Linked DNA regions of Homo sapiens: region 1 is linked to region 2. The links are contacts of gene promoters, found by promoter capture Hi-C in human tissues and cell types (Jung and others, 2019). All regions are on one chromosome and are shown on one strand. The core of a region is centred on a gene start or on the middle of the fragment in contact, and the rest is flanking DNA. Distances in the headings are between cores, read along the strand shown.

What was found. Contacts are between HindIII fragments. The study calls those that stand out against the background at their distance.
Region 1: a contact is called between a fragment that was not itself captured here and the fragment with the promoter of RFX4 in region 2, in 1 of the 25 tissues and cell types used here (mesendoderm cells).

What each region holds. Positions count from the first base shown.
Region 1 is chr12:106,384,463-106,388,359 of GRCh38, forward strand. All of the region lies in intron 9 of POLR3B (RNA polymerase III subunit B), which reads left to right. Among named protein-coding and RNA genes, the nearest start is that of POLR3B, 29 kb to the left of the region's middle. The HindIII fragment of the contact is 3,960 bases long and covers 293-3,897 here.
Region 2 is chr12:106,581,617-106,585,515 of GRCh38, forward strand. RFX4 (regulatory factor X4) reads left to right here and starts at 1,388. Exons shown (of 18, transcript NM_213594.3): 1 at 1,388-1,747. The coding sequence starts at 1,705. All of the region lies in intron 1 of LOC100287944 (a long non-coding RNA gene), which reads right to left. RefSeq lists enhancers at 1-349, 1,838-2,422. The HindIII fragment of the contact is 9,839 bases long and covers 1-3,899 here.

The DNA.
Region 1 (3,897 bases), core at 1,023-3,522, 200 kb before region 2:
TATTCACAGATATGCACTGACACAGAGTGGTAAAAACTTAGAATCACCCAGCGCACATATTCCCAGCTGAGATTGAACAAGGCAACACTCTGCCTTCTTGTTTCAGCCCTCATGCTGTAATCGAGTGTCTGTTTTGCAGTCTATTTAGTGCCGTATTTTTTGTATTTTTGTGCTTTGTTGATTGCAGTATAAGATGGCCCCCTAGTATAATGCTAAAGTGCTGTCGAGGTGTTCCAAAGGGCAAACAGGCTGTGATGTGCCTTCTGGAGAAAATATGTGTTAGATAAGCTTGATAAGCTTTGTTCAGGCATGAGTTATAGTGCTGTTGGCTAACTTCAAAGTTAACTAATCGATATATATTAAATGTCTTTTTTTTTTTTTTTGAGATGGCGTTTCGCTCTTTCACCCAGGCTGGAGTGGAATGGCGTGATCTCAGCTTAATGCAACTTCCCGTCCAGTTTCAAGCTATTCTCCTGCCTCAGCCTCCCAAGTAGCTGCGATTTCAGGCGCCCTCCACCACGCCCAGCTAATTTTTGTATTTTTGGTAGAGATGGGGTTTCACCATGTTGGCTAGGCTGGTCTCGAACTCTTGACCGTGTGATCCTCCCGCCTTGGCCTCCCAAAGTGCTGGGATTAGGTGTAAGCCACAGCGCCTGGCCTTAAATATCTTTTAAAAGAAACACACAGAAAATAACGTTCTGTATTGATTAGTTGAGGAAAATGTTGTGACCATAGGCTCACAGGAACCTAGCCCTATATTTTTCCTGGAGCAATGGTTCAGTATTCACTATTCAGTATTTGGTATAATTCAGCAACTTTATAGAACATAACTACCTTGGATAATGATAACCGATTGTATATAGGTATAAAATGAATCTTGATAACCAGTTTAGTTGAAATGAAGAGCTCAGATTATTTGAGGAGATACTGGATGCTTCAGATAATTTTAGAAATTTATAGTATTTATTCAGTTTCAATAGTTATGATAGTGGAAATAATTTTTGAGTCAAAATTAGAAAAAAAACAAAGGAAGAGATCCTCTGAGGCTGAACTAAGTTCGTTGAAACGGAAAAGCATTTTGGGTATAAGCCTCAGAGGAGTAAGAAAGAAGGGAATGAGTCTTTACTGTTAAAGTTGTAATCAGGTGACAGAGTATAGGAGTCAGGGAGGAAAGTAGCCCTCAAATCAGTCTGGTGATTGGGATTTAGGGAGAGAGTATTGGTAAGAGTATTCATAAGTATTGAATGGACATTGACAAGTCAGGTTCTTTAACTCAGGAAGCATCCATGTTCTAAATGCAATTGTGTGAAGAAACTTTTAGGAAATTTTAAACTGTTTATTGTAGCCTAATGTGCTTTTGAGTTCTATAAATGAGATGGAGCCATTTTCTTTTCAGGATGATGATGATGATAGTCTTAGTAGCAGTACCATGATATCAGAGGGCCCAGGAAGAATTCTTAAATATACTTTTTCTTTTCTTTCTTTACGGTTTGCATTTTTTAAGCACAAAAGTAATTTTGACTTTTCTTGTAGGGATCCCACAGTGCCCAATGCAGTGTTTTATGTACATACTGATGAATAAAGAAAATTTTATCTAACGGGGCTGGGCGCGGTGGCTCATGCCTATAATCCCATCGCTTTGGGAGGCCAAGGTGGGTGGATCACTTGAGGTCAGGAGTTTGAGACCAGCCTGGCTAACATGGTGAGAAGCCATCTCTGCTAAAAATACAAAAACTAGCCGGGCATGGTGGCTCACGCCTGCCCCAGCTACTTGGGAGGCTCAGGCAGGAGAACTGCTTGAACCCAGGAGGCAGAGGTTGCAGTGAGGCGAAATCGCACCACTGCACTCCAGCCTGGGTGACAGAGGGAGACTCCGTCTCAAAAAAAAAAAAAAAGAAAACTTTATCTAATGGTGTAGAATTACATCTCCAGCAGAGGGCAGTATGTTCCCATGCATCCAAAGGACTTTTTTTTTTAGAAAGTTTTATAGACACTTGAAGATGCATAGTACTCTTTCTTTCTACCAGAAATTATAAATTAATTATAATGCATATAATCTTCTATCACTCATGGAAAATGCATGACTAGACTCATGCATACATTAAAATCAGAAAACATTAAGTACTGTTTTTTGGCCCGGTGATGAGTTTAATAAGACAGTTTTGCTGGGCGTGGTGGCTCACACCTGTAATCCCAGCACTTTGGGAGGCCGAGGTGGGCGGATCACGAGGTCAGGAGATGGAGACCACCCTGGCTAACACGGTGAAACCCCGTCTTTACTAAAAATACAAAAAATTAGCTGGGCATGGTGGCAGGTGCCTGTAGTCCCAGCTACTCAGGAGGCTGAGGCAGGAGAATGGCGTGAACCTGGAAGCCGGAGCATGCAGTGAGCCAAGATCACACCACTGCACTGCAGCCTGGGCAACAGAGCAAGACTCTGTCTCAAAAAAAAAAAGAAAAAAGTTTCTTCTGTCAAGTTTGTTTAATGTTTATATTGTACATCTATACACGCATATGCTTACATACACACAGCTGACTTAAATCCTTTTTAGAATAGGGCTGTAAATTAACAATATGCATATTTATGTAACCAGTAGTTGTGGTTTCAGACTTCTCCCTTTCTGATTATAAAAACATTCCTTGCATTATTTAAATTTAGAAAGCCACTTAAAAGTATATCTACATTTTTGGATATATTTTTCCAGACAGTTTTCCTGTGCTTTTGTGATATACACATACATTTTTATTTTTTTCACTTAACAGTGCATTATGAATAGCTTTCCCTGTTATGAATCTGCATCATTATTTTTAGTGACTGTTGTGTAGAAGTTGCATACTTGTGGTGGAATTTACTTAACCACTTTCCTCTAGTGGGGCATTTAGGCGTCATTTTTTTCCCCAAGGCTTTACTCTTAAACACAACCCTAGGATGACTGTTATACATACCTGTTTGTGCACATTGCTGATTGTTTTGTAAGACTTTATTCCTGAGAGTGGAATTTCTTTTTTTTTAAACTTGGTGCATGTTGCCAATTATTTTCCTGAAACGTATCCACTACATTCTAATCAGTAAATATTTTAAAATTTTTAGTTTGGATAAATGAGCTAAATATTTTGGTCATAAATGGTCACTTTTATTGGTCTCCCACAATAGGTATGTTTTAATAAATTGATGGGAATTTGTTTGATAACCACTATTTAGACTTTTCCATCTGGGAGGCAGCATAGAGTATTGGATATCTTAGAATCAGACAGATTTAGGTTGAATCCCAGCATCTGCACTTATTAGTTATGTGACCTTGGGCATATTTTCCAGTCTCTTTAAGTCTTGAATAACTCATCTATTAAGGTGAGAATTTTAAGAGAGTTGCTGTGAAGAGCAAACAGGATCATGTATTTTTTGAAAAGTCCTGGAAGGGGAGTGCCCTTTTTCTTTCCTTAGTTGTCTTTATGGTCAGAAACCCGGGAAAACAAATGGGGATACCAGAAAAGACACATCATTTCTCTTTGAGTGTTGTGTGGCCCTAACACAGACCTTGACAGTCATTAGGACTTGATGGTTGTTGATTATAACCAACAATTGGCTGAAAGTGACAGGAACAGCAGGGTTTCCAGATTCCATGCTGAGTCTGAATATGATGGAGAAAGCTTTTAAGACATAGATCAGCCTTATTTATGGACTTGGATCACTACAAAGGTTCTCCTGCCCATGAATCTTCCCCACTTTACATTTTGTATTCCCAAGTATGCTGCCTGCACTTATGATGGCATCTGTAGTTTGAAAGTTTTTGTGGAAAAGAGAATCAAATTTCAAGGGTGCTGGGCAGTGTTTCCTGGAAACTAACTTATATGGAAATTTATCTTTTTTTTTTTTGAGATGGAGTCTTGCTCTGTCAC
Region 2 (3,899 bases), core at 138-2,637:
GTTAGGGACTCCGCGCTTCCCCGCCCCCGCCGCGGCCCGCCGGCTCTGCCTCTGTCCATGGTCAAAGCACCCGGGGTAATCCGCCTTTCTCTTCCGCCCGCCGGGCCCCATTCATATTCTAATCACAGCGCGGCCGACCCGCGAACGGCCACTTTATCGGGGCCCGCAGGAGACGCAGCTTGCTCCCCCTCACTTCCACTTCCAGCACCCCCCGGCCCTCGCCCCCCTCTTTCTGCACTTTCAACTCCGCCGAGGAGGGGGTCCCTGGGAAAACCGCGTCCCCACTTGGATGCCGGGGCTTCTCACAAACTTCGAGGCCGACTGGGGGACGGCGGTGGGGTGGGGAGGGCAGGGGGAGGGCGGAGGAACAGAGACAGACAGACTGACAGAGTTACGGGAAGAGGCGGGGGAGGGGGGACAGTACAGAGAGACCGAGGGGGATAGAGACAGAGAGGGGCAGAGTCCTAGGGGGAGACAAAGAGAAGTGGAGGCAGGGTCTGGACAGAGACACTAGCAGCCAAGGAAGGAGAAATGGACAGAGACAGAGACACAGAGGACGAGAGGGACAGAGAGCTAGAAACAGACACCGGGAGACAGGCGGAGAGAGACAGCGAGATGGAAGGAGAGAAACAGGATGAAGGACCCAGGCCCAGAGGAAGACAGAAAGTTCTGGAGGAGGCGAACCAGCCACTCACCTCCTCCCCGCCTAGCGGCCTTGTTACGCTCATATTGGGGCATGGGGTCTTAGGGATTCAGTTCCCCTTCCCCACCCTTTCCCCTTCAAGCTCGCTTCACTCCCCACGCGTGTCTGCGGATCCGCGTGCAAGGGGTCAAGACATACCCCCTCCCGCATTCTCAGGGCCACCACCCGAAATCTAACCCAGGACCAAAATGGGGGGTGGGTGGGGGCGCAAGAGAAGGAAGGGAGTGGGGCCCCACTCGTGGTAGCGCAGGCGACTCCCCAGGCTCCAGGAGTTCCCCGCGGCTCCCCCCCCGCCCGCGCCCCCCTCCCGGCCTGCCAGCACGGCGCGGGGCCCGATGGTGGGGAAGGGCCGGGAGGGGGAGGGGGCCACATCTAAGCCAATTTTGATTTCGCCTATAATGAGTGCCGGGCGAAGGCTGGAGAAGGCCTCTGGAACTTTAAATAAGAAAAACGTTGCTAATGCTATAATAGAAGGGGGAAGTCGGAGGGCTGGGATTGCGTCGCTCTGAGCCCCCCTTTTCGGAGGCGGCTTTTCTTATTCAAAACAGGCCCACAATGGGCTTCACAGTGCGCCTCGCCACGGCCCCATCTGACGAGCGGCCATTCATCAGGCCGGCTGGCCTATCAATGACATTGCTCCCATCGGGGCTCCTATAAAATGATGCTTTTTCCCATGAAACATCCGCAAACATTTTGACGGGTTTGGCTTTGCCCGGCTGGATTACTGAGTGTCCCCTTGCTCGCTCGCTTTTTCTCTCTCCCCCTTCTCCGAGCTCGCTCCCTTCTCTCCCTCTCTCTCCTCTTTTCTTCTTTCTCTTTTCTTTCCTCTTCTTTTTCTTTTCTTTTCCTTTCCTCCTTTATCCTTGTGCCCCCTCACTTTCTGCGTCTCTCTCTCTCCCCTTCTCCCTCCCTCCCTCCCTTCCTCCCTGGGCATCTCTAGCACAGGGGATCCCCAAACATCAGGACTTTTGGGGGGCGCCTGTGCTGTCCATGGGAAGAGCATGCATTGTGGGTTACTGGAGGAACCCGACATGGATTCCACAGGTTAGTCCTACTGGCGGGGTTGGGGGGATACATTGGGAGGGAAGGAGAAGGGAGAGGGGGAACTTTAGAAAGAAGTTGGGAAAAGTTCAGACGGGTCAACTTGACAGTGGAACCCCAAAGAATAACGCAGAGCTTGCAGAAGTTTTCAATTCGAGGCGATGTGTGTAACTGGATGCGTGGAAGTATGTGTATAAGCGTGTGATTGTGTACGTGTGTGAGTGTGTGTGCGTGCGCGCGCGCGAAGGAGCGCGCTTTCGCTTGCCCTGGACACAAAGTTACGTAAAGATGCGCTGGCTCGCGGCGAGCTCGAGGTGCCACTTGCAGAAACTTTGCCAGCCGACCGCCCCCTCCCGGACCCAGGTCCTCCTAGGGTATGGGGGCCTCGGAATAGCGGTGCGCTCGGGGTCTGGCGGCCAGGGCCGGGAAGCCGAGCGGAACGCCCCGAGGCGGGGGAGGGTGACGGCTTCGCACTGCGCCTGGGAGGTGGGGACCGAGGCTCCGGCTGGTAGAGACGCGCAGCTGGAGGGAGTGGCGGCGGCGAACCCGGTGGTCCGGGGGAATCCGCAGAAACGGGAGGTGGGAGTCCTGGGCTGTGGGGTCGGGCTTTTAGCTTTTCTGCCAGGAAGGGGCACCCAACGCCGGGCTCCACTAGGGAGCTGTGACCTTGCTGGAGGGAGGGCAGGACGCAGACTGGCCCGCTAAACTCGGCGTTGGGGTCTGCAAACTGCTCTGCAGTTCAAGAGCTGCTGGGCGTCAGTTTTGGGGGTGCGGCGGTCCTTAACAACGAAAAAAGGAGGCCAAGGAATCTTTCACAACGAAAACACCCGGTATCTCGGTTCTTCCTCCAGTAGTTTTCGCCACCTCCCACTCCTAGCACCTTTGAAGAGCCGTCACACTTCTAGATCTGTTAACGCTCCCTAAGTCCCTTGCAGGTGGAAGTTCTCTTACAGTTCACCCCCTCCCCTAGGCTCATTCTTGCAACCCGGCTATTTTCATTTTGGCCCCCTGCAGCCTCAGAATTTCTTAGGGTGATGAGTTTGGGGAGAGGCAGAAATAGGGCAGTGGACTCAGCCTGGGCCGTGGCGAGGTTTGAGAGAATGCCTGCAAGCATAAGCTGCTGAGCATTGCAGCGCGGAGCAACAAGTGCCTTCCAGCCCCGGCCGTCCCCTGAGCATGCACGTCCTTTCCTTGAGCAAATAAACAAATGCCGCACGAATGTCTCCCCAACTCCACCCCTAGGCAGGCTGGATATGGAAGTGGGGTGGGGGCTGGGGTCATCGGGGCATTGCCCCAGAAGGTCTTTCCTCGGTCCCTGCAGAAATATTTAAGGCCTCTCCAGGTTTCCGCTGCAGCCCTGGTGGCCCGGACACCGGACTGCTCTTGCCAGGGGGATATTCTGTGTTTTAGGGTAGTTGTCGATCTCTGATTCCTAGAGTCAAGGCCCCGCCTGATTGCACTCCCCTGGCTGGGTGTGAGCCCCCAGGGAGTGGGGAAAGGCTAAGCCCCGAAGTTCTCCTTCCTATACTCGATGACAAACGAAGGCAAGGAGAAGCGTCGCCTGCCCTGCGTGCCTCTCCGGACACGGCAGGCCCCGCTGAGGTCTCTACTGGCGGTAAAGCGGGAGCCCAGAGAGAGAAAAGCGCCTTTTCCACCATTTTTTCATCTCAAGCGCTGCGCCCTCACCACCTCCTGAGAACCCTAACATTAAAAATGAATATCCTTAACAAACTTAAACGCATGTCTGCAGAGTTTGTGGCCAAGTATTTTCGAGCGGCCCACGCAGGGACATAGGGTCTCCCTACATCCCAAACCTGCAGTGGCCCTGCTGGGGGGCTTTTAGCTGCCTCCTCCACAGGGCCAGGCCCCTCGGTACTTCTGGGGAGGACTGTGGGGCTGTGGATTCGTGGCGTTTTCTGTTCTCGATGCAACTGGTGCTCGTGGGGGCACCGGGTCCTCTTCACCTCAACTGCAAACACTCCAGAGACGTTCTGAAATGAAATCCTTTCCCCATCCACTTCTCTCCCTTTTGTATATCCGAGACATCCCTAGGTCACCACCCTGAACGCAAAATCAAAAGTTTTGGTACACGACAGTGTGAAGAAATGACACTAGACGCACCAGGTGACATTTCACTCCGACTTGCAAAACCGAC